Regions from separate parts of the Homo sapiens genome. Here regions 2, 3, 4, 5 and 6 are each linked to region 1. Evidence: promoter capture Hi-C in 16 types of primary human blood cells and fetal thymus (Javierre and others, 2016). All regions are on one chromosome and are shown on one strand. Each heading gives the region's core, a stretch centred on a gene start or on the middle of the fragment in contact. The rest is flanking DNA. Distances are from core to core; before and after follow the strand shown. Region 1 holds the start of LDLRAD4 (low density lipoprotein receptor class A domain containing 4). Region 2 holds the start of MC5R (melanocortin 5 receptor). Region 3 has its middle 43 kb from the start of MC5R. Region 4 overlaps RNMT (RNA guanine-7 methyltransferase). Region 5 overlaps RNMT (RNA guanine-7 methyltransferase). Region 6 overlaps CEP76 (centrosomal protein 76).

Region 1 (2,932 bases), core at 433-2,932:
AGAGGATTCAAGAGACAGCCCTAAAAACCTGCCGGGAAGAGTCTTCTCCAATGTAAATACAAACCTACACGAACCAGGACCATGGCCAACAATGGCAAGCCCTTCCAAGGGTAACAGCAGAATGTTAAGAAATTAGAGAGGTCATTTAAAACAAGGGAGGAAGGTAGCTACAATTCCATTACAGCAAATCCCTTACTGGCATTTACATTCCCAGCCCTAATTCCTAACACTGTGTTCAATGTCAATAGCAAAATGAAGCTCTTAAAAAGAATTAAGCTTTCAAAGATCATAAGGAAGTTAGCCCCCTGTTTTAAAAAGCACTGCTTAGAAAGGTCCATCAAATAACATTTCAAGGGTTGATGGGAAACCAAATATAATTCAATAAATATACATGGGTAATACTCAGACATCCTCATTTGTCTATGTAATGACTCAGATTTGACACTCTGATCCTTGACTGAACACAAAGACTATATTCCAGAAGAATTGTGCAGAGTACAAAGGGAGAGTTACAGATGACAACACACTCGAGTTAAAGACTAGAAAAGACAATACCATATACAGAATGCAGACATGACTTGATGCAATGGCAGTCTCCCTGTGCAGACTTTGCAGAACCTTCTCTGTCATTCAATACTCAGTCCTGAAGCTCCAGGGAAGATACAGAGAGGAGGATGCCATTCTTGGCTAGCCAAACCGGCAGAAAGGGCCGTTTTTAAAAGGAAGCTTCCCAGCACTAGCCCTTCGAGAAGGCACCAACCTCCTTACCAGCCATAGGACCCTATTTTTGAGAGTCAATGCTGCTCACCATCTCTATCCACCTCTACTGCAAATAACTTACTAATACTAGCGCTCAGAACCCACATTCTGTGCAGCTACTCTTACCTCACATCCTACAATGCCTAACACATAGTAGGCCCTCAATAAATATGTATTGCAATGGTAATTAACATTTAGAAAGCAGCGCTGGTCCGGGGATGAGAAGATGCCAAAATAATTAGAAAAGAGAAAAAGAGAAGGGAATAGACCAAGACACAGAGGAAAAGAAAAGAAGCAAATCAAAATTATCTAATTCTAGCTAATTAAAAAATTTTGGGGGAAAAACAAAAATCATGCTAGTTCATGCGGCTATGGGCACACAGCAACCATTCCTGTGCCTGGGCAGAGCTAAGGAGTCCTGCTTGCTTTAAAGAGCTTCTAGCTGCCCTGACTGGCGACGAGGTGTCCCTCCAGGTAGGTGACCCAAGAACGCTGTACTCTCGGATGCGCCTTCCCCCAGTGCCGCCCACCCACCATGCGTCCCTGTCGTCCTGAAAACCTCTGCCTCATCGGGAAACCTTCTCCTTTTCCAATTAAAAAAAAAAAAAAAAAAGTTTAAACAAGCAAATGCCCTCTCCGCCACGATAGCGATTTAACCTAAACCGAACCCACTGTCTTCCACCGGTGTACTCACAGGGCGCGCCCCCAGGCCCACCCGGGGCGGCGCACCGGGAAGGGGTCCCGAGGAAGCTTCCTAAAGGCTGTGCAGGGCAGACCCCTTCACAAAGGCAAGTGCCGGGCCGGGCTGGGTGCTTGTCGCTTCCTGTTTATTCCAAGGTGAGGGGCAGAGAGAAATTCAACACACGCCTGCTTCCTCCGGGGCTCGGAGACCCAGCCTAAGTGCAACAGCAGCAGCCCCAGACAATCGACTTCCCAGCCAATGCCGGGAGCTCCGGGCGGTCCCGCGACCGACGTCAACGCGCGCGGGGGGACCCGGGGGGACGCCGGGTGAAGCGGGCCCGAGGGGCCGGGGCCGGGGAGCGCGCGGTGCAGGATGCGGGACTGAGGGGCTGCGGGGCTTGGCCCGCCCCCTCCTTCCCGCAAACTCCCCGGTCAGGTCCTGCAGGATCTTCCCGCTTCCCGCTGACCTCCAGTCCCTGCCCGCCACGGCTCGCCGAGGCCTAGGGGCGCGGAGACAGTTGGGGCTGCCATCCGCGCGCCCATCCTGGCCTCCGGGCGGTGCAGAATTCAGTCTTGCAACCGCGGGACACCCTGCGCCCCAGGGCACCAGGAAACAGAAAACGGGGTGGGGGTCGGCGAAGTCCCTCCACCGGCGTAACCCCGCCCGCGGGCCAGCCCCGGATCCCCGCCGTGCCCACCGGCAAGCCCACCCGGACCAAGCCTCACAGACCTCGCGCGCTCGGCGCCCAGCTTCTCCCTCCGGCCCCAGCCGACGGCGCAGGCTCGCGGACGTCCAGTTCCCAAAGCGTCCGGTTCCCGAGTCCCCCGCCACCCCTCCCTCCGGAGCGCAGCGGTGAACTTGGGCCAGAAGCCCCGACCACTGCGGCCACCTCGGGTCCGCACTCACCTGGGCCGCCCCCCCGGAGCGGAGGCGGGGACTGCCCGCAGTGCGGCTCCGCGGCCACCGGCCCTGCTGGCCAGGGGGAGGGGCGCTGTGCGGGGCGCGGCAGGGGGCGCGCGGCGGGCCGGCGGGGAGCGCGGCGCGCCGGGGTTCTTTAAGAGCTGAGGACCTCACCCCCGGGCCTCCCCCGCGCTCCCCGCCCTGCTTCCACTTTCCCAGGCACCCGCAGCCTGTCTGGCTGCAGCGGCGGCAGCGGCTCAGTGGCTTGCAGGGGATCCCCGGCCGGCCGCGGCGGCGCGCGGAGCGGGCAGGGCCAACGCACTCGCCTGCTAATCCCGCCGGGCCCGGTCCGCAGCCTCAGCGCGGGGAGAGAGGGGACGCGGCGCTGCGGCCGCCGGGGAGGTGTCCCGCCTCCAGTCGCCGGAGGGGGGAGTGTCCCGCCTCCCGCCGCCGTCGCCGCCGTCTGTCTCCAGCCGTGACTGCGCGCCGCGGCTGTGTCTGTCTCCAACTCCTCCAGTCTCTCCTCCTCCTTCCCACTCCGCGGTGGGGACCCGGCGCGCGGCCAGGCCGCGGGTACCGGGGCCGCCGTGG
Region 2 (2,932 bases), core at 170-2,669, 610 kb before region 1:
TTTAAGAGACAGGGTCTCCCTATGTTGCCCAGTCTGGTCTCAAACTCCTGGCCACAAGCGATCTTCTCTCTCAGCCTCCCAAAGTGCTGGTACTACAGGGGTGAGCCACGTGCCCGGCAGCTGGCTTGCACATTCTGACCTGCGTTCCTGAGACCTGGAAGAGTGCCCCTGGACACGCAGATTAGAATCTTCACCAGCCTCTTCTGCTCTCCTTGCTTTCAGCTCCCAGCCTTTCACATGCATCTTACTAGAGAGACACTCACCTCCAAGTGCCCAGGACAGTTTCACTTTTTATGGCTTCTCTCCTGGGCTCAAGTTCACTATCATAAGTGTCCCCAACTCATAACCTACAAAATCCCAGCCAGTCTCCCAATGTTCACATTCCTAAGGCTACTGCACGACATTCTCCTCAAGGGAGCTCCGATTTAAGACTGCCCAGACCCGTATTCCCTTAAGACAGACAGACAGGTGCATCCCTAACACTTGTCCTGACACTTCTTAGACCCATCAGGATTCAGCCTCCACAGCTGTAAGTAAGGCTATAACCAGAATGGTCTGTTACCCTGAGCAAAGTCACATGTTAAAAGCTACTGTCTTAAGTTTGTAAGTGTAGGCTGCACATACGTGTTAAAATTGAGGAAAACAGTGCTGCTTTTCCCTCAATACCTATTTTTCCCTCGCTTCTGCATTATGTGGAATTCCATGAGGTCTGCTTGATAGTTTATTAGGTCCGCGTGAGCACAGTATTTAAAAAAAAAAACAGCAATTTAAATGTACCACACTCCTTTGTTGCAAAATTTCTCTCTTATGATTCATTTTCAAAAATCCCTTTGCCCTCCAAACTCAGATCACATCTGGAGAGAATTTCTGTCATCACTGTCATCATTAATATTTGTAATCACTTTGGGAGGGAGGGAGGGGGTGAGGGACAACAAATTACTTAATAGGTACAATGTACACTATAGGGGTGATGGCTACACTAAAAGCCCAGTCTCCACCACTATGCAATACATCCATATAACAAAACAGCACCTGTACCCCCTAAATCTATAAAAATAAAAAAGGAAAAAATTGGTAATCTAAGCATTTATTGAACTACAATCATTTGTTACAGCTGAGTTCCAGCTCAGATATATCGGTAAATTATGCAATTATACTAAACATCATATCGAGCTGTGTTAAAAACTCACGGGGCAAGCTAGCTGCCGCCCCGCTCACTTCCACATGCAGCGGAAGCGCGATTTTGCATTTATTCTCAGGATCTCAAGGAGATAGAAAGTTGTGGCTATTTACCGGTGCTCCTCCTCGCGGGCCGCGGCGCTCAGCCCGGGCCCCCGGCGTCCCCGGGATCCGACGGCCGTGCGGCGCTCAGAGCCAGCCCCGGACGGGCCTCTCCCCCAGCTAGGCGGCTGCGGCTCTGCGGGGCTTTAAGCCTCCTGCCTGCCCGCGCCGGGCCCGCCTCCGCACCGCCGGCTGTCGCTCCGGGCGGCCTCCGCTGCCACCTAGTGGCCCAGCACGGCACAGCGGCCAGAGAACCGCGTCAGCCCCGAGCGAAAATCCCCCCGAACACACTCTTGAATGGTTGGATGGTTGCTTGGTTGGTTGGTTGGTCGGTCGGGTCGGTGGGTCGGTCGGTCGGTCGGTCGGTCGGTTGAATGGTTGGTTGGGTGAGTGGTTGCTTGGTTGGGTAGTTGGTTGGTTGAGTGGGTGGGTGGGTGGTTGCTTGTTTGGTGATTGGTTGGTTGGGTGAGCAGGTGGTTGCTTGCTTGGTTGGTTGGGTGGTTACGGGTTAGTTAGTTGGGTAGGTGGGTGGTTGCCTGATTGGTTGATTGGTTGATTGGTTAGGTGAGTGGATGGTTACTTGGTTGCTTGGCTGGTTGGGTGGGGGGTTCGTTGATTGGGTAGGTGGGTGGTTCCTTGGTTGGTTGATTGGTTGGTTGGGTAGGTGGGTGGTTGCTTGGTTGGTTGATTGGTTGGTTGGGTAGGTGGGTGGTTGCTTGGTTGAGTGAGTAGATGGTTACTTGGTTGCTTGCTCGCTTGCTCGCTTGCTTGGGTGGGTGGGGGGTAGTTGGTTGGGTAGGTGGGTGGTTGCTTGGTTCGTTGATTGGTTGCTTGGGTGGGTGGGTGGTTGGTTGGGTGAGTGGATGGTTGCTTGGTTGGTTGATTGGGTAAGTGGGGGTTGGTTGGGTAGGTGGGTGGTTGCTTGGTTGGTTGGTTGGGTCAGTGGGTGGGTGGGTGGTGGGTGGTTGCTTGGTTGGTTGGTTGGGTCAGTGGGTGGGTGGGTGGGTCGTTGGGTGGGTGGTTGCTTGGTTGGTTGGTTGGGTCAGTGGGTGGGTGGATGGGTGGTTGGGAGGGTGGTTGGTTGGTTGGTTGGTTGGCTGGGTCAGTGGGTGGATGGATGGGTGGTTGGGTGAGTGGTTGCTAGGTTGGTTGGGTCAGTGGGTGGGTGGATGGGTGGTTGGGTGGGTGGTTGCTTGGTTTGGTTGGTTGGGTCAGTGGGTTGGGTGGATGGGTGGTTGTGTGGGTGGTTGGTTGGTTGGTTGGTTGGGTCGGTGGGTGGATGGATAGGTGGTTGGGTGGGGGAGTGGTTGGTTGGGTCAGTGGGTGGGTGGATGGGTGGTTGGGTGGGTAGCTGCTTGGTTGTTTTTCTGGCTGGTTGCACTTTTTGTTTCTTTTCTCTTCCTCTTGAGCACTGATTAAAATGCTCCCGAGCTCAAAGAGGGCTTGTCACCCCGTTTCTCCTGGACAGTGGTCTCTGGGATGTCCTGATGATTGTTCTTTGGGAAGGAGGCCCAGTGCCTGGGAGCCCTCATCTGTGGCCCTACCACGCCCCTCTTTGCCCAAGGCTCTCACCCCTCCTCCAGGACTACACATGCCATGCCAGGCTTTATCAACCACACAGGCTTTCCTTACTCCAGCAAAAAAGAACAAA
Region 3 (2,932 bases), core at 226-2,725, 560 kb before region 1:
ACTCACAGTTTTGTGAATTTCCAAGGATTATCTATACATATCTGATTTTCTTGCTTGATTACACTGGCTAAAACCTGCAGTACCATGTTAAATAGGAGTGATGAGATTGAGCATCCTTGCCTCGTTTCTTATTTTCTTTTATCTTTAGTTATAATGTTAGCTGTAGGTTTTTGTAGATGCTTTTATCAGATTAAAGAGGCTCCCTTCTATTCCAGTTTTACTGAGTGTCATCATGAAGGGATGTTGGATTTTGTAAAAATGCTTCATCTATTGAGATGATTATGTGGTTTTATCTTTCATTCTATTAGTACAGTGCAATATATTACTTTTCAGATATTAAGTCACCTTTGCACTATGGAATAAATTCCACTTGATCATGGTGTACAATTCTTTGTATATGCTGCCGCATTCTGCTTGTTAGTGATTTGTTGAGGATCTGTGCATCTACATTTGTAAGAAATATTTGTCCGTAGGTTTTTAAAAAATAATGCCCTTTTTTTGCCTCTGATATGCAAATACTATCTTCATAGAATGAGATGGGAATTGTTCCCTTCTCCTTTCTATTCTGGAAGAGTTTATAAAGGGTTAGTATTATTTCTCTAAATGTGAGAGAAATCACCAGTGAAACCATCTGGGCCTGGGCTTTTTTGGTGAGATTTTAAGGCACTGATTACCTTTTTTTACTAGTCAGATTTTCTCATTCTTCTTGAGTCATTTTTAGTATTTTGAGTGTATTTTTATCTTTGGAGAAATTAGTCTATTCCATCTAAGTTGTCCAATTTGTTGACCTAAATATGTTCATGTTATTCCACTATAGTCCCTTAATTTTTATAAATTTGATAGTGAAGTCCTCTCATTTCTCATTTTACTAATTTGTCTTTTTTTCTTGATCAGTCTAGCTAAAGATCTGTCAGTTTTGTTGAATTTTTTAAAAAACTAATTTTTAATTTCACCAACTTTCTCTATTGCTTCTCTGTTATCTATTTCATTGATTTTTCACTCTAATCTTTATTATTTGCTTCTTTCTTCTTGTCTTGAGTTTAGTTTTTTTTCCCAGTTACTGAGTGAAAGCTTAGTTTATTGATGTGACATCCGTATTTTCTAATATGTATTTGTAGCTATAAATTTCCCTCTAAGTACTGCTATCATTGCATCCCATGTGTCTTGATGTGTTTTTTCCATTCCACTTAATATATTTTGTGATTTCTCTCTTGGTCCATGAAAATAAAAGTGTATTAATTTCCAAATATTTGTGGATTTCCCAAATTTTCTTCTTTTATAAATTTCTGTTGTGGTAGAAAAATATTGTATATGATTTTAATACTTTAAAATTTATTGACATTTGAATTTCTTTGATAGTGATGTTGAGCATTTGTTCATATACCTGGTGGCCAGTTGTATGTCTTCTTTTGAGAAATGTCTATGCGTATCCTTTGCCCACTTTTTTTTTGAGATGGAGTCTTGCTCTGTTGCCAGGCTGGAGTTCAGTGACATGATCTGAGGTCACTGCAACCTCTGCCTCCTGGGTTCAAGCGATTCTCCTGCCTCAGCCTCCTGAGTAGCTGGGACTACAGGTGCCCGCCACCAAGCCCGGCTAATTTTTTGTATTTTTAGTACAGATGGGGCTTCACCATGTTAGCCAGAATGGTCTCGATCTCCTGACCTCGTGATCCACCCGCCTCAGCCTCCCAAAGTGCTGGGATTACAGGCATAAGCCACCGCACCCGGCCCCTCTGCCCACTTTTTAATGGAATTCCTGTTGAGTTTCTTGTATATTCTGGATATTAGTATTCTGTTGAATGAACAGTTTGCAAATATTTTCTCCCATTCAACAAATTGTCTCTTACTCTGTTATTTCTTTTTGTGTGCAGAAGCTTTTTAGTTTAATTAAGTCCCATTTGTCTATTTTTGTTTTTGTTGCCTGTGCTTTTGAGGTCTTAGTCATAAATTCTTTGCGTAGACCAATGTCCAAAAGAGTTTTTCCTAGGTTTTAGTATTTTTAAAGTTCCAGTTATTACATTTAAGTTTTTAATCCATCTTGAGCTGACTTTTGTATATGATGAGAGATAAGGGTCCAGCGCCATTCTTCTGCAACTGGCTCTCCAATTTTCTCAGCACCGTATTGAAGAGGGTGCCCTTTCCCCAATGTAAGTTCTTGTTGGCTTTGTTGAAGATGAGTTGGCTGTAAATATGTGGCTTTATTTCTCAGTTCTCCATTCTGATCCATTGGTCAATGTATCTATTTTTATACCAATATCCTGCTGCTTTGGTTACCAAAAACATAGAATGGATGATTACATTCATATCTCATAAACCCCTTGTGGCTTTCCATTGACTTCAGAAAAATATCCAGACTTTTTCCACCACCTACAGGGTCTTACATTACCTGGTCCCTGCCTATCTCTATGCATCCATTATATAACACTCATCACTTTACTCAATTAACTCAAATAACTTACTCTCATTTTCTGAAATTGCAGTCTTATTCTTGACTTAAGCTTTTGCATTTGCTATTCTCCTAGACTGGGGCATTCTTGCCTTATATGATTATTCGGGTCTGAGCTCAAATGCTACCTCTTGAGATCTTCTCCAACAATCAAACCTATTTTCTTTCTTTCTTCCCTCCCTCCCTCCCTCCCTTCCTTCCTTCCTTTCTCTCTTTCTTTCTTTCTTTTTTTCTTTTTCCCAAGATGGAGTCTTGCTCTGTTGCCCACAGCTGGAGTGCAGTGGTGCAATCTTGGCTCACTGCAACCTCCACCTCCCCAGTTCAAGCAATTCTCCTGCCTCAGACTCCTGAGTACCTGGGATTACAGATGCGCACCACCACGCCCAGCTAATTTTTGTATTTTTAGTAGAGACAGGGTTTCACCATGTTGGCCAGGCTGATCTCAAACTTCTGACCTCGTCATCCACCTGCCTGAGCCTCCCAAAG
Region 4 (2,932 bases), core at 124-2,623, 550 kb before region 1:
TTTTTTTTTTTTTTTTTTTTTTGAGATGGAGTCTTGCTCTGTTGCCCAGGCTGGAGTGCAGTGGCGTGATCTCAGCTCACTGCAACCTCCACCTCCCAGGTTCAAGAGATTCTCCTGCCTCAGCCTCCTGAGTAGCTAGGATTACAGGCATGCGTCACCATGCCCAGCTAACTTTTGTGTTTTTAGTAGAGATGGGGTTTCACCATGTTGGTCAGGCTGGTCTCGAACTCCTGATCTTGTGATCCGCCCACCTTGGCCTCCCAAAGTGCTGGGATTATAGGTGTAAGCCACTGTGCCCAGCCTGCTTTTATCTTCTTTGATGCCCTTGAGGGTTTGACTGTGGTGTAACTGGCAGTGCAGTGGGGTGTGCGTGTGTCAGCAGAGGTCAGGTACTGGTGGGAGCAGGATAGTGAGACCACCCATGGATGCCGGCAAATGGTGCAGGGAGGTTGTGGTGGGAGGAGGCTGTGGGTGTGTGGGTGCCCACCGGTAGAGGCCAGTCTGCTGGAGCTCTCTAGCAGTTAGGTATGGTTGGCCTGTAAAGGAGCTTTGTTGGCCGCCACTGGGGAGCACCCTGATTGGGCATCTGTGGCTGCACTGCAAATGGGCATGGCCAGGAAGGGACCCCCAGAGAGGTCAGCAGATTAGAGGAGCAGGGGCACTCAGGTAGACTGGCCTTGTCCCAAGGGCAAGACCACCCTGCTCTGTCCAGGTCTGACAGTTGACAAAGCCAAAGTCACCCAGAGGAGTGTGGTGAGCCCTAGGGGATGGGTGTCCTTGGTTGCACTCTGCTGTAGCCATTCCCGTGCCAAACCCTCTGGGTTCTGCAAAGGCTGGAGTCCTTTCCCCGCCACTGCTCCGAACAACTCTCCGTCAGCTTAAATGTCCGTAGGGGTTGTGGGGTTTCCTGCAGTTAGGATTCTGGAGGTCCATGGTGAGAGTGGGTCACTCGCCTATTTAACTCACCCCTTACCCAGGAGCCACTGGGGACCAGGAACAAATCCTAGTGCTCACCTGCCCTGGGCAGGGTTCCCAGCTTCCTTCCCCTTGAGCCCAGTGTCTGTATTTTCCCTCTGTCCACTCTCAACACCTTCCTTCCAAAGGTCTGCTCAGAGTGTGCCAGTTTTCTTGATGGTCTGGTCTCTTGGTGAGAGATGCTCTTCCTGGCCCCATCTAGTCAGCCATCTTAGCTCCCTCCCCAACTCTCTTAGATTTCTCCAAGCATTATTGTACTGATCTTCAATGTTCTGGTATTCCTGTTTCCACTTCCTGGTTCTGGAGTGTACTGGTATCTTCCCTACACATCTCCCAACACTTGCAGGTAACAGGGTGACAGAGCAAAGGCAAAGGAGCAGTAGAGAGTAACCGAGCAGTGGACATGTAGGCATAGAAGACAAAGGCCCAGTGAGATCCTGCAACATTTGCTTCTGATGAGGGCCTCAGGCTGCCTCCACTCATGGTGGAAGGCAAAGGAGAGCTGGTTGTAGAGATCACATGGCGAGAGAAAGCAAAAAATGGGGGAAGTGCCAGGCTCTTTTAAACAACCAGGTGTCATTGTTGTTAATCGGCAACAACAATTAACTTGTCCTTGGGAACTAACTGAGCAAGAACTCACACTCCCACCACCGCAAGGCATTAATCTATCCATCAGGGACCCGCCCCCCGACCCAAACACCTCCCATTAGGCCCTACCTCCAACACTGGGGATCAAATTTCAACATAAGATCTAGAAGGACAAACATTCAAATTGTAGCACATTCCTAAGCAGAAGTATGTACCTATGTGCACCAAAATTCATGTACTAGAATATCTGGATCAGTACTAGTTTCCAAATGGTAAATGAACCAAACAGCTGTCAGATAAACAGTATGTGGTTTATTCACACAATGAAATATTATACAACCATGAGAATGAAAATCCATGTACAAATACATGCAACAAAAATCTCACAAACATAATATTGGTGAAAAGAAACCAGATACGAAGAATGCATAATTCCATTTATATATCTCCCCAAACCAGACAGAACTAATCTATGCGCTTAGAACTCAGGATAGTGGTTTCCCTTGGAGAGGTAGTTAACTGGAAGGGAATCTGACGGGGGGCTTCTGGGGTGCCGATTGTATGCACGTGCTCCACTTGTGAAAAATCATTGATGTGTTTCTATAGTTACACTTTAATAAAAAGTTAAACAAAATGATTTGCCTCTGTCTGGATACTCGACTCAAAACTGAAAAAAATGTCTCCTTTGCTCTCAGCCTCTCACTTTGGCTACACTCTCGTACTGGCATTCTCAGCTCCTGCCACTTGCAAATGGTGAGGGTGGGAAGAGAATCCCTCTCCCTGCCATGCAGGCTAAACTAGATTTGCTACAGGTTGGGCTGCTAAAGAAGGTGGTCTACCAAACTGAAATTCAAGTCTTATCTCTGCTTCCTGCCAGTGCACTCAAGTGCTGTCTTGCTCTCTCTAACCCCCTCTTTCAACAAAGCCCCTTACTCAGAAATAAACACTCCTCTCAGGGAACATCTAAGTAAGTATCAACGTTTTGAACCAAAAGAATGGAGCTCTAATAGTTAACATCTCAAGCTGCAGGTGGTGGATGGGTGAGGAGTCATCTGGGCTGACACCCGTGGAGGTATATAACAAGCACTTGGAGGGCAGGCCCAGCTTGAGGAGGGGGTGTGAAAATCCTGGCTCTCCTTTGGGCAAGTCTGTATCCTCTATGACTCAGTTTCCTCATCATTAAAATGGGAATAACGGTGCTGAGATGTTATAACAATCAAAATGAGTTACCACAGGTGAAGAATTTAGCAAAGTGACTGACTTAGGTAGGAGGCTAATAAACATTAGCTGTCAGCTCAGCTTTGTCCAAGGTATGTTGCCCCCAAAAAAGCACAACCCAGGAGAAGTCCAGGGAGCAGGGGACTTTAGG
Region 5 (2,932 bases), core at 217-2,716, 530 kb before region 1:
CAGCTAGAAAGGAGGCACTTTAAACGTACAACTCCCTAATAAACTTTTAAGAAAATGATCTATGAATATCTGCTTTGCAATCTTCTTTGTCTCTTTTCTTTATAAACATCCTGCAGCAAGTTTAGGCATTAGAAATTAACCTATTTATTTGCTGTTTTAGAAGTACTCAGCTATTTGAGACTGCTGTATCATTAGCATAAACCACTTTACTTTGTATCACATCCCAACAAAGGGCTCTAAGAAAGAACAGATTACCAATCAGTTTTTTTTGAACTTTAATTCCACATATTGTAGTTTTACCATATCACAAAGCTTCAGAACTTCGTTTTTGAATGCCTGTCAAACTATTTTGTTGTAAACTTGTTCTTCAACTTATCCTCCATGTGATTATCTGCTTATCACTGGACACCCAGTTTCTCTTCTCTACTGATCATTTTGAAAGACCAACCAATACATGATTATAAAGCTGTAAAACATCGTTATTTTTTAAAATTGATTTTATTTTTTGAGATGGAGTTTCAGTTTCGTCACCCAGGCTGGAGTGCAGTGGCGTGATCTTCGCTCACTGCAACCTCCACCTCCCGGGTTCAAGTGATTCTCCTGCCTCAGCCTCCTGAGTAGCTGGGATTACAAGTATGCACCACCACACCTGGCTAATTTTGTATTTTTAGTAGAGACGGGGTTTTACCATGTTGGCCAGGCTGCTCTACAACTCCTGACCTCAGGTTATCTGCCCGCCTTGGCCTCCCAAAGTGCTGGGGTTACAGGCATGAGCCACCATGCCGGGACCAAAACTTATTAAAACATATATATCTTAGTGTCTCCTCTAAAAGGAGTTACTTTTCCAGAACTGTCCCTAGAATATGTTTGCTGGTGAAAAAAAGAAAACAGGTGTCAGGACCTACAGTTCCATGGCCTACATCTTTTCATTCTTTCTTCTCTCTGTTCCAACGCTCCAGGAAAGCAGAAAAGTTGTACTGGTTCTAGTGCTGAACCCAGATAAAAGCTGGATGCTTCAGGAAAAGACTTTTTGGGACAAATATCAAGAAACAGATCCATTTAAACCTCTGACCTGGTCGAAAGCAGTGGCATCCGACTGCTCTTTCCACCTCTGGTCTGGTCTCAAAGTCCCTCCAAACCATCCCCCATTATGCCACCCAAGTAGTGTCCTAACTCTTATCTGGTCATGTCCTTTCCTGCTCCAAGTCCTTTACACGCCCACCAGAGTGACTTGGTCAAGAAGTAGGAAAACCAAAGGATTTTTCAAACTACATGCTATTACTGCTTCTGTCCCCAGACAGCCATGGTAACAGGTCATATCCCCAAGTGCAGTACTGGGAGAGAAGGAAGACTGCTGAAGAACTGTGAAGGCCATTAGCACTACTTCCTCAAACATCTCCTGTGCACTCTGGTTTCTCTGCCTGTCCTCTACCAATCTTCTTCCTTCCCAAAAGGCCCTTTATATACTCACTGCACTTGGAATGCTTCAATACTGCAGTTCCCATCATGGACTGCATTATTCACTGAAATAACATGCCATAAAATTCTTGTTATCCCATACCCTACCATACCTAAGTAGATTTTGACATACATTACACAAGTGAATTCACTACCCATATGCTAAGAGAAAGGCTAAATAATTGACCACTATCATGCAAAGCACCATCAAATAAAGGCAATATGCTAAAGATATGCTGTATATGTGGGACAGGGGGACTTATCCACACATAGTTTTGCTAGTTTTCTCCTCTTCCTTAAGACAAACAAAACAAGCATCCATTCCTAATATAAAGCCAATAAAAACATTCTTAGATCTAAAGTATAGGAAATATAACTAATGAGGAATATGAAATTTTACTGATTATGTCTCTTAAAAGACAATTTAGAATTTATAAAAAGTCCTCCCACTCAACATTGTGGGAGTGGCTGGGTGCAGGTGCAACTTCAACAGGAGACTTCTGTTTGAGTATCATCTACAAAAACTGAAGAAAATCTAAAGGTTAGTATGCCTTGAGCAAGTCATTATCCTCTGAGCCTCAGGCTGCCCACTAAAAAAATGTGAAAACTGGCCAGGTGCAGTGGCTCACACCTGTAATCCCAGTACTTTGGGAGGCCAAGGCGGGAGGATTGCTTGATGAGGCCAGGAGTTTGAGACCAGCCTGCGCAACACAGCAAAACTTCATCAGCACAAAAAGTTTAAAACTGAGACAGGTGTGGTGACACACGCTTGTAGTCAGTTACTCAGGAGGCTCAGGTGGGAGGATCACCTTCCAGAAGGTGAAGGCCTCAGTGAGCTGTGATCACATCACTGCACTCCAGCCTGGGCAACAGAGCGAGATCCTGTCATTAACAACAAAAAAAAAAAAATAGGAAAAAAATTAGTGAAAAGTTACCATTCTGCCTACTTCATGGAGGTAATTATAAGGATAAAGAAGTCAGAGTATGCTTAAAGTACTTAAACTGAATAAACTCTCTAAGGAAGTTTAATGTCCATTTGATGAATATGATTCTACTGATCAATAATAAAAATGCTCACTGAATATTTTAGGTCTGTCCAACCAAACATTGTCTGGTAAGGAGAAAAAGGAAAAACAATCAATGGCTGTGTAATTGAAGCTTATATAGATACCTTCACTGCTGCATTAGGACAGGAGAGGTCTCAGCAACAACACAGTCTAAAAGACTGGAACCCTGCTAAAGAATTACCATGCAATAAAATTATGTATGGTTTGAGCTTGTCTGGACACTGGCCAGGAAGGTTCTAAATTACTGTCGTAACCAAAAGGCACTGTTGTAAAGAACTGGTTCTCAACTTGGGGCAATTTTGTCCACCAGGGGACATTTGGCAATGTCTGGAGAGAGTTTTCTGGTTATCGTAACTGGGGACAAGAGTGTTACTGGAAGGCATCTAGTGCGTAGAAGCCAGGAATGC
Region 6 (2,932 bases), core at 109-2,608, 520 kb after region 1:
AGGTTTTTCCATTCTTATCGGTGACGAAACAGATTTATAAAGGGTAAATAAGTTGGCTTGAGGTTACACATCTACTAAGTTGAAAGCTGGTAAGATTCCCTTATCATTAGGCAGATCAAAGTATGAAAGTAATAAGATCATACTTTGATCTGCCTACTCCCAGTCCGTGTTCTTCTGATTATACTATACTCCCTCTCAGAAGATTCCTTTTGGTTGAGTGTTGTTTGTGGAGAAATGGTAACAAAGGTGCCAGATAACCAGTGGAGACTATTTCTAGAATTTGTACTCAAAAGATTCATTCTTTAAAAGCTTACCTTTGTTCCCATTCAATTGTGGTAACAATTGTGCATTTACTGTTAGCTGGAGAACCTTAAAACTTCAGAAGCAGTATTTGACTGCTTTGTGATGTTATAAATTGTAATATGAGTTTTCTACATAGATGGATGTCCATGGTAGAATAAGAGAAATCCTTGCTGAGACTATACGGGAAGAATTGGCACCTGATCAACAGCATTTATCAACAGAAGATTTGATCAAAGCCCTTAGACGTCGAGGAATCATTGACGATGTGATGAAAGAACTTAATTTTGTTACTGTGAGTAATCTTTTAGGGAAATAAATGAGAGTATATATGTATATACTAATGCGTAACACTACTTATAAGGTTCCGATGTGGGGCCTTTCGTTTTAGTAAAACCACTTCAAGGTCATTCTGTTTACTAGTGTCCTTGTTTCAAGTATAGGCTAGCTCTGCCCTTGAATATACTGAATAGTTTTGTGTATCAATGAAATTTGTGTTAGATATCTTATTCCTGTCTCTACAGTGACAGAATTTTCTCTTATTTTCTAGGTCTGTAAATTTGAATATACATACTTTAGTCCAATTAGTTCACCATAACAAAGTTCTTTTTCATTATGATCTGTAACTTTTTTAGATTAAGCGTATTTTTAAAATAAGCACTCTTTTGGGATTATATTCTCTATGATTAACAAATTACAAATTTCTTTAAGAAAATAATTGACTGCATAAGAGTCCTCAAATCTTTTAATACAAATAGGTCAATAATGGGATGATAGTCTCTCAGTGCACAATTAGTAAGTAGGCCTTCATTTGAAAGTGAGGCAATAATGGAAACTGTGACCTCAATACCTGGGTAATATAATGTGAAAATTGGATGGACTTCATAATACAATAGGGAATAAGTATTTTAATACAGCACCTTTTTTTGGTTTTTGAAGTTTATGAACCCGTTTGTTATAAAAATTGACCTAATAACAGCTTCTACTCTGTGATGACACTTTATTAAAATCAGCTCATAGTGGAATTATAAGCCAACTGTTACATAAGGTTTACAGAAAGTTTAACCTTGTTGAAGGTATTAAGGATTTGTTTTTAGCTTTATGTGGATAGTATTACTTGAAGACAGTTTAATTCCTTAGCATTTGATTTTAGGAGTGATCAGTTTACATCATCTTTTATGCAGGCTTTTATTTTCATTATTTTAATTAGGCTAGGAAAATAAGGGGTTCTTTGAAAGGGCCTTACCCTGTTGACTTTAGGTTCAGTGCTTAGTCATGTTTATTGACATTTCCTTAACCTATAATTGTTTTCTAATTTGTTTTGATTTTTTTTTCCTGCCTTTCTAGGACAGTGTTGAGCAAGAACTCCCTTCCTCTCCAAAACAACCTATTTGTTTTGATAGACAATCGACATTAAAAAAAAGTATGTATATTTTAACATTAATTTAGTTGTGGTTAATAGTAAATATTGATGTGGTGTAGTCTTTCGTATTTGATAGAAGACATTTCCATTTTTTCCCCCCAAAATAAAATACTTAAAATTTTATGGTTGGCTAAAACAGATTGTTTTGCATGAAGTATATCAGAAGAGTTAATGTATAGCACGGTAGAAGCAAAAACAGCATCACCAGTTTCTTGTGTTTTAATAATATGTTTTATAAAAACTGTACAGCCTTGCTTTTAAATATTAATATAATTGACAAATACACTTGCTGAATTGATAATTATATGAGTTGGTTTGTGAAGGTGGAGGAATGTTGGATAAGCAGTTAAAAAGCAAAAGTATACTACATATTGGCTCTGATGCCTTTTCCAGCTGGGAGAAAGTAGCCTGGATGTAAACTCAGAAAAGAATATCATATTTTGTGTATCTTCTCCCCAGAGTGCAAATGATTCTGGCATATACAGTAATAAATTTGTTACTCTTTTGCTTTTTTTTTAGTCTTTGGTATTGGGTTTTTATCTGTCAAGTTTTTATTTCCTAATGTCTTGATCACATTCTTTTAAGTTATTTGGCAGTTTCCTCATATATATTGCTACACTTTACAGCTAATATTGATCCAACACGGAGGTATCTTTACCTTCAGGTTTTGGGTGGAAAAGCTTTCTTGGAACATCTGCAAGAACCTGAGCCTTTACCTGGACAAGTTTGTTCAACGTTTACTTTATGTTTACATTATCGAAACCAACGTTTTCGTTCTAAACCTGTTCCATGTGCCTGTGAACCAGATTTTCATGATGGCTTTTTACTTGAAGTACACAGAGAAAGCTTGGGTAAGAAACAGTAATAAATTGTCATTTAATTGAGTAAATCTTTGTTATGTTTTATTGTGAAACAATAATAATGACTTTTTCTGTAAGGAGAGATTTATAATGGAGGAATCTCTATTTTGTTTCCCACTGCTCTTTTCAATTTAAACTACTATCCACCTTCTTGCAATATTCTGTTTGCTATTCATTTTCCCTGGATATTATTTTTTGACTGTTTTCATTGTTGATTCTTTAGTAATACACACTTAAATACCTATTATGTGCATAGTGTTATGCTAGGCAGGTGCTGGGATGATATAGTGGAAAATGAGACATGGTCCTTCTCATTTATAAAATATAACCAGATTGATGATGTTATGTA

Evidence for each region. Contacts are between HindIII fragments. The CHiCAGO score rates a contact against its expected background, and 5 or more counts as called.
Region 2: a contact is called between the fragment with the promoter of MC5R here and the fragment with the promoter of LDLRAD4 in region 1, in 1 of 17 cell types (naive CD4 T cells). The highest score is 5.1, in naive CD4 T cells.
Region 3: a contact is called between a fragment that was not itself captured here and the fragment with the promoter of LDLRAD4 in region 1, in 4 of 17 cell types (endothelial precursors, activated CD4 T cells, naive CD4 T cells and 1 more). The highest score is 7.4, in endothelial precursors.
Region 4: a contact is called between a fragment that was not itself captured here and the fragment with the promoter of LDLRAD4 in region 1, in 3 of 17 cell types (naive CD4 T cells, erythroblasts and activated CD4 T cells). The highest score is 7.2, in naive CD4 T cells.
Region 5: a contact is called between a fragment that was not itself captured here and the fragment with the promoter of LDLRAD4 in region 1, in 7 of 17 cell types (naive CD4 T cells, non-activated CD4 T cells, activated CD4 T cells and 4 more). The highest score is 20.7, in naive CD4 T cells.
Region 6: a contact is called between a fragment that was not itself captured here and the fragment with the promoter of LDLRAD4 in region 1, in 1 of 17 cell types (fetal thymus). The highest score is 7.9, in fetal thymus.

What each region holds. Positions count from the first base shown.
Region 1 is chr18:13,217,510-13,220,441 of GRCh38, reverse strand. It overlaps LDLRAD4 (low density lipoprotein receptor class A domain containing 4), which reads right to left and starts at 1,682. Exons shown (of 7, transcript NM_001378100.1): 1 at 1,454-1,682. RefSeq lists a silencer at 2,522-2,891. The HindIII fragment of the contact is 2,786 bases long and covers 1,512-2,932 here.
Region 2 is chr18:13,822,636-13,825,567 of GRCh38, reverse strand. It overlaps MC5R (melanocortin 5 receptor), which reads right to left and starts at 1,419. Exons shown (of 2, transcript NM_005913.3): 1 at 1,294-1,419. RefSeq lists silencers at 1,215-1,304, 1,315-1,604, 1,570-1,750. The HindIII fragment of the contact is 16,860 bases long and covers 1-2,932 here.
Region 3 is chr18:13,779,656-13,782,587 of GRCh38, reverse strand. No RefSeq gene overlaps it. Among named protein-coding and RNA genes, the nearest start is that of MC5R, 43 kb to the left of the region's middle. The HindIII fragment of the contact is 803 bases long and covers 1,074-1,876 here.
Region 4 is chr18:13,763,480-13,766,411 of GRCh38, reverse strand. It overlaps RNMT (RNA guanine-7 methyltransferase), which reads right to left. Exons shown (of 12, transcript NM_003799.3): 12 at 1,856-2,932. Among named protein-coding and RNA genes, the nearest start is that of RNMT, 38 kb to the right of the region's middle. The HindIII fragment of the contact is 4,622 bases long and covers 1-2,932 here.
Region 5 is chr18:13,746,655-13,749,586 of GRCh38, reverse strand. The region is part of intron 9 of RNMT (RNA guanine-7 methyltransferase); the gene reads right to left. Among named protein-coding and RNA genes, the nearest start is that of RNMT, 21 kb to the right of the region's middle. The HindIII fragment of the contact is 2,304 bases long and covers 315-2,618 here.
Region 6 is chr18:12,698,621-12,701,552 of GRCh38, reverse strand. CEP76 (centrosomal protein 76) reads left to right here. Exons shown (of 12, transcript NM_024899.4): 2 at 440-595; 3 at 1,648-1,723; 4 at 2,350-2,574. It also overlaps a transcript of PSMG2 not described here. Among named protein-coding and RNA genes, the nearest start is that of CEP76, 2.6 kb to the left of the region's middle. The HindIII fragment of the contact is 2,094 bases long and covers 312-2,405 here.